Linked DNA regions of Homo sapiens: region 2 is linked to region 1. Evidence: promoter capture Hi-C in 16 types of primary human blood cells and fetal thymus (Javierre and others, 2016). All regions are on one chromosome and are shown on one strand. The core of a region is centred on a gene start or on the middle of the fragment in contact, and the rest is flanking DNA. Distances in the headings are between cores, read along the strand shown.

Region 1 (3,713 bases), core at 685-3,184:
TTCCAGGCAAAGGGAATGGCCAGTGCAAAAGCCCAGAAGCCTTATCCATCATTCCCAATGCAGAGGGCATCTTTGAAGAGACTAGGAGGGCTTTGTCAGATCACATACATTTCCCCCGCCCCTGGCTATCCCCAACTTCTCATCTCAGTCTAGCTGCCTGCAGACCAATCCAATCTATAGGTTTTTGAACAATTATTTATTGAGCTTCTACAATGGCCAGCCACTGCTTTATTCATCAATGCAGCGGTGTTCTCGTTTTCTTTGTGTTTGCAGTAGTCATATTTAATCGAGAGAGGTCATAATAAAATTTCAGTATCTAATGGGGCTTGAAATCTCAGACCTGGCCTCACTGGGCTGGGTCCATGTGACTCTAATCTGCCCTTTTGTGGGGCCACGTGCCTCCTTGCTTACCACAGACCCAGCTAGATCCAGTAGATGCCCCCCTTATGCAGACTGCCTGACTCTGTATGCTTTGGAGATTTCCACTCTGCCCTAGAGTGTCCCCCATCCCTGCCTGGGGTAACCTCTAACAAAGACAAGAACTGGATACATGCTCTTTGCTGGTCTTGAGGGACAGGGGTCTGCTCCACGTTGGGAGACCTGGAAGAGGCTGGGGAAAGCTTAGCCAGTTCCTTCTCTCCAGGAATGGATGTGATATAGGGGTGAGGGGCGTTGGGAAGCAGCGGGAGTGGGGGGTTTGAGGGCGGGGGGTCTTAGGCTTCTCAGACCCATCACAGCTCTTTGCATAGGCAGCTGCTACAGTCTGCTCCTGGGGATGCCTGGCCTGGGTGTTCCTGCAGAATCTTTAACTCTCTCACACTCACTGTCTTGAGCCCCAGACAGACACTATGTCCCTCTCTCTCTCTCTCTCTCTCTCCTCTCTCTCCTCTCTCTCTCTCTCTCTCTCTTTCTCTCCTCTCTTTCTCCTCAAGTCTGTGGTGGCCACACCCGGAACCCTCCACCTGCCTGCCCTGAGGAGAAAGGACCACCCACCCACACATTGCTTGGATCCCACCTGCCTTACAAATGCTACCCTTCACACAACCTTCAAGCACTCTCGACAAGCCCCCATGACTCCCGCGTGCGTTTTCGTATGTTTGGAGCGCCCTGTGAGTGTGGTCTTGTGCATGGTGATGAGGATGCCTGCGTGTTTTCAAGGGTCTGGGTGTGGGATGGGAGAGCATCCGCGTGCCTGAGTGAGCGTGTGAGTACACCGCATGCCTGGGTATTGTGTGTCTTTGTGTGAGCGTGGGCGAGTGCGTGTTTGAGTGTCTGCAACATCCTTATTCCTGACTGAAGGGCGGCATGCAGGAGGGGCTTCTCTTAGCCAGTCTGTATCCTCTTCAAACGCACTCCAGTTAGGGGACAGTTCACCGGCGGCCACCCCCAGAGTCGCCACACACACGCACAGGGAGGCACGCACCCCTCTTTCCAGAGCCAGCAAGCTCAGCTTCCCTTGTCGAGGAAAACCGACAACGCTTTAGCATCCTCGCTGCTCCAACAGCCCCACCCCTTCCCCCGTTCTTTGCCCTAGGTATAGAATCCTCTATCCGGAGATGGACTGGAAGCATTGGAGAGGGGCAAGAGAGGTGGCTGCGAGGAGAGTGGAGAAAGGCAAACTGAGGACACGCTGGAGGAGTGAGGAGCCGCTGCGGGAGAGGCAGATCCTACCCACACCACGCCCCTCCCTCGGGGTTGGAGATTGGGGATAGCCTGTTTTCCACTCCGGTCTTCCTTCGGGGCTCCCAGGTCTAACTGCATCTTCTCCCCTGAAAGTGGAGCCAAGCGAGGCGGCTGGGACCCCCTCCTCTTCCGCATCCCTCCCACCCCACACACACTCCGCTTCCAGGCAGCCGCTGATTGGCTGCGGGGAGCGGCGTCCCAGCCCCCCGGCTTTGAGGCGGGAGTGGAGCGGGTCCGAGGTGGGAGGCGCACAGACGGGCTCCGGGAGCCCCTCCCGAGGCCCCGCGCAGCGCGCCCCGCACCCTGCGCCCCGCGCCCTGCGGGAGGGCTGAGCCAAGACTCCAGGCGGGCAGGTGCGGAGCGAGCAGAGGGGATCACGGCCAAGGGTAGGAGCCAGTCCTGCGGGGAGAGAGGCGCTGCTGCTCCAGCTGCCGCTGCCTCCGCCGCCGCCACCACCGAGCCGGCGACCAGAGTCGGGCTGGCAGGCCGGGCGCGAAGCGGCAAGGGGAGCGAGGGGCGCGCTCATGGAGCACACGCACGCCCACCTCGCAGCCAACAGCTCGCTGTCTTGGTGGTCCCCCGGCTCGGCCTGCGGCTTGGGTTTCGTGCCCGTGGTCTACTACAGCCTCTTGCTGTGCCTCGGTTTACCAGGTGAGGGGCGTGGGGGAGAGGGAGGGAAGCCAGGAACCCCAAGTGCCGGGCAACCCTACCCAGAATCCCCCGTCCTCCCCCGTGCGTTCCCTGGCGCCCCCTCGGAAAAAGTTTAAGCTTTAAGGGCAACTATGGATATTTCCACACGGGGGGAAAGGAAGTTGCTGTGCCCTAGCTGGGGACCGTGTGTGTGTGTGTGCGCGCGCGAGCGTGTGTGTGTGTGTGTGTGTGTGTGTGATGACTGTGACGGCGGGCGATGGGCTGGGCATGTGAGCATGGATTCGAAGGTGCATTTGTGCGCGCATCTGGAGGGGGCGGCTTTCATGGGGTGGGGGCGTAGAGGGCTTTGTGTGTGTTTGGCTTGACTGCATGTTCTGGACAGAAGGCTTCGTGGAGGCTTCCCTTCTCCCGTGGCCCCTGCACGTCCACCCCACTTGGGGCACCTCTGCCCCTCTGCGTGTCCCCGCCTGACACGAGATGAAGCTGGAGACCCTGACATTGAGCACTCTCTTGCTCGGGGGGCACTGGAATGGAGAAAGAATGCCTAGCAAGAAAAGGGTCTCCCAGCTGGCTAAGGAGAATCAGGGGTTGGCTCTGGGACCATGCCCTGGCCAGGGCAAGGGTGCAGAGACACACAGGGCAGCCTGCGGTGGCTGCCACCTCAGGGGGTCACAGTCTCCTTGAGGACATGCCTGGCCCCCTGGCTTGGCCTCCAGGTCTACCCACCCTGGGCAGCTCACGGCTGCTGTGGATGTCTGGCTGGTCCCACATCTTAATGTCCTTTCCAAAGTGTGGCTGAGACTTGTCCTGAATTCCTGAAGAGAGCTGAGCTGCCGAGAAGGAGGGAGTGCTTGCCTGGGCCGTGTGCGAGAGAGAGCGAGAGAGAGAGAAAGCTTTTTTCCTGGGGCTCCAGCTTTGGGTGGACCCTCCTTGCAGGCAGTCTTGGTGACAAATAGATCCCTAAAGATTACTTGCATGCAGAGAGGAGAGAGGGACTGAAAGAAGCAGAGAGAAAGAGAGAAAAAAAATCCAGTGTACAGCCTGAAATCTTAGCATCATCTCCCTAGTCATCTCTTAGTCTGCGAACCTTAGCATCTTGCGATCCTGGGAACTTGGGAGCTGGATTTCTGAGAGCCTGGCTGAGATTTCCTTTCCCAAACATTCAACTTGGCAGTCAGGGCCCCTGATGAGATTGTTTCAATAAATCCCCCCTCCCAAATTTGGCAGGCATGAGAAAGCGCAAGTTTACTAATGTGTGAGCCTCTCTCCCCAAGCCAGTGATGAGGCTTTTATTCCTAACTAATCGCCACGGCTGCCCTAGGAGAGCAGCTCAGCCTCTGACTTGCCCTGCCGGGGTGGTAGCACATGTCCTGTAATTA
Region 2 (3,400 bases), core at 10-2,509, 250 kb before region 1:
GCAAGGTCAGGTGTTGTGGCCTAAATTGTTTTTGAAGTAGGGTACCAGATATCTGCTGAGAAAGGTGGTGTGAGTGGGTGATAATAGCTGCAGAGACCATTTAAGAGGAATGGGAAGGTTAAGAGTGGCCACTGGGGAGACTGGGATGGGCACCTGGCCAGACTGAATGGATCAGTAGGTGATTTAGTGGGCCCAGTTGTCACAAGTTCCACATTTTAGAGACTATTTATTCTCCAGTTGCTCTGGGAGTAGAGAAGGTGGCTTGTAGCACCTTTTCTTTTTCCAGGTTGAGGTTTTGTAGAAGGTGTTACCAATGCCAAGACCCTCCTGCTCCCTTGACTCCAGTTGCCTTGGCTCCTTAAGGAGTCCCAGAGTGACAGAGAAGAAGCAGTGGCCATTTTTTCTGCAAAAGCTTTGGCTCTTTTATGAAGTCCATGATTTCTACCATGTCATGAAAGCCAGGTCCAAGCCTGGAGTTAATAAGTCCAAGATCCTCTACAGCCTCTTCTCAGTCTCATGCCTTCCAATCTCTAGGGCAGCCTACATATCAAAAGGGATTTACAGGGGCTACTCTGGTGCTTCTTTTGTCCAAGAACCTTTGTCTGTCCTTTGCCATTCCAAAATCCATCATCACCAAATTAGCCATTCCAAAACTGCTCAGCATTAGAAATCCGGAGTTGGGTAGATTCTATGGACCAATAAATGGAATTTTTCGAAACATCCACACTCCCTTCTTTCCTTTCCTATGTGTCCTCTTAGTCTAACTGGCCCCAAGCTCAGTGGCCTTCAGACAGAAGCAGAAATGTTCCAAGATGATTAGCTAGGAACACAAGGTACAACTGAAAATCCATTGTGCAAACAAGTGCCTGTTTGATTTTCTCTTCACTTCCCTTTGGGTATTAAGCTTCCTTTCAATTCGTGTTTGGTTTCTGGTAATAAATATGGCACCAGTTTCATTGATTAATTATGAAGATTAAATGTGAGAAGTCAAGAACGCAAAGCAGTGCCCAGCATGTTCAGCATTCAGCACACAGCACTATTGTTTGTAGGAAGCATTCGCACAATGCTGAGACAGCTGGAAGGGTTGACATTGTGAGGGGAGGGCCCTTCTTTCACCATCCTTTGCGTAAATGGCTTATCTCACCTCCACTCAACAAGCCCAGTGTATGGCCTAGAACTCCCATCATACCTGTGCACCAATTGAGGAGAGACACATGGGTGGGAAATTGCAATAAAAAGACGGCCCACAGCAGGCTGCATTCCCATGGCTGGCCAGAGGAGGAACGCTTTGTGTTCTCATCGGAGGTAAGTCCTGCTTTAAGCCCCAGGAGGCTTCCTCCTAATCCTGGGAAATCTTGATCCACTGGACATGCTAGGATTCTTTGTTTCTGGAAATTTTTAGAACCCAGCAAGTAGTTTGGACCCTGGCCATTGTCAAGTGCTCCAGGTACCACTCTATGTCCAACTCAGTCATGCTTCCAGTCATCTGCGATGCTCCAGGCCTACGGACGCCACCCTCTTCCTTGTCCCAGATATTCCCACCAGGGAACTAGGTCTCTATTGGGATCTCATCTCTAAGAATCACCAATCCTGGGTGCTTCCCTATCCCTGCTGTCTCATAGCATACTCATGGTATCCCTGCCCGAAACCGATCTCTATTTTCCACTGAAGTCTTCCAGAGGTTGTAGGAAGTTATCCAAAGATTTGGCCATTTAGGGAAAGTATTTCCCAGAAAAGTAAATGCCATCCAAATGCTGGCAGGCTTTTTTGCAGCTCTTTCTTTCTGCCTCGCCACCGCCCCCAACCCCCATTGATTTATTTATTCATCCTTAATCCTCTACTGAGTACTCCTTGTGTGCCAGATTCTGTACTAGGAGCAAGGAACATGAGGCTCGGTTTGGCATGGTTCCACAGTCACAGAAATCTACATCCATAGAGGACATTTCAGGGGGCTCTTAGCAGCACCCAATGCATAAAACTAAGAAAGGGCAGCCATTACTTTTGTGTGCAGGTATTCACAGGTACCATATCCCTTTTTCTCTATCCAATCTCCAAAGAGCCTCTACTTCCACCTGAGCAGGGACCATCCTGAGACCTTTCTAGGACATTCTGCAGTACTAGCCAGCTCTAAGCTTGCCTTTGGTTTGCTTACTGTCAATTTTATCACCCATTATCTCGCTCTATCTGTCCATAAGTCACACCTACTTTGAAACAATGCAGCTCTTTATGAAGGAAGTCAACGGATCTGTTTCTAAGAACATAGACCTATGCCCTAATCTTATCTTGGTCTTTTCTTTCCCATAGCTGCATGGGAAGTCTGCATACAGCAAAGTGACCTGCATGCCTCACCTTATGGAAAGGATGGTGGGCTCTGGCCTCCTGTGGCTGGCCTTGGTCTCCTGCATTCTGACCCAGGCATCTGCAGTGCAGCGAGGTAAGTATTCTGCTCACCTGGCATCTCAGATGTCAAGGAAGACCTAGCAAGTGAGGATAGAAGTGCAGAGAAGGTGGCTCAGGTAAGGAAGAGGAATTGGCAGTTCTAAAGCAAAAACTCAGAGCTAGAAGTCAAGGGAAACATAATGAGAAACAATGGAAATCAAGTCACAATCTCTCAAAGAGCCTAATCAGAAATTCCTCTGAAAGGGCAGTGGGAGCCAGTTAACATAATTTCCCATGCCCATATCTTTGGGAGATTAGAGACCCCAGATTAAAGAAGATCAAGAAATACATAACTCAGTCACCTTGTGCTGGCAAGTGCCTTCTCCTTTTCCTGAAAGGGCTAGATTAAGTGATCTCTTTATGAAGTGGGCAATTCAGATACTTGCAGAAAGGAGTCTCAGGCTTAGAATTAGAGTGCAAATTTCAGCCCCTGGAGGAGGGTGGGAGAGGGTACTGAGCTCATTGGAGGCCTCCAGTGGAAAAATACAATCTAAGAATAACAAATGCAGTGATTCCTTGTCTTAAAATAAGTACATGCATGAGCAAAGTTTGAAAATCTTTTTTTCTGAAAGGCCCTTCTAATGTGTATTATAAGCATGTGCAAAGCTTGAAAATCTCTTTTTTTTAGAAAGCCCCTTTAATGTGTATTGTAAGCACATGATCCTGTGTGTGCACTTAGCTCCTTCTTCAGGCATCTACAGCATTCAACAAAATAGAACTAGAGAAGACAATTAGCTTGACCCTGGTGCTGTGCTTGGCATTTTACACATATTATCACATTTAATCCTCTAACAATCGTTTAAGGCTTTCTTTCCCCAAATGAGGTGTATATATTCCAAGATGGTTCTGGGGGTGCCTGGCAAACTCTTAACAAGTTTTTAATGGCTGTATGTTTATTTTTTATGCACATCTAAAAAATATAACTAGCACATGATATCTATGTTATCACAGATATTATTCT

The links. The method cuts DNA at HindIII sites, captures the fragments that hold promoters and counts their contacts. A CHiCAGO score of 5 or more calls a contact.
Region 2: a contact is called between the fragment with the promoter of GP2 here and the fragment with the promoter of GPR139 in region 1, in 3 of 17 cell types (M0 macrophages, M1 macrophages and endothelial precursors). The highest score is 8.1, in M0 macrophages.

Annotation. Positions count from the first base shown.
Region 1 is chr16:20,072,111-20,075,823 of GRCh38, reverse strand. It overlaps GPR139 (G protein-coupled receptor 139), which reads left to right and starts at 1,934. Exons shown (of 2, transcript NM_001002911.4): 1 at 1,934-2,334. The coding sequence starts at 2,208. The HindIII fragment of the contact is 1,831 bases long and covers 623-2,453 here.
Region 2 is chr16:20,325,372-20,328,771 of GRCh38, reverse strand. GP2 (glycoprotein 2) reads left to right here and starts at 1,259. Exons shown (of 11, transcript NM_001502.4): 1 at 1,259-1,305; 2 at 2,305-2,434. The coding sequence starts at 2,341. The HindIII fragment of the contact is 1,228 bases long and covers 907-2,134 here.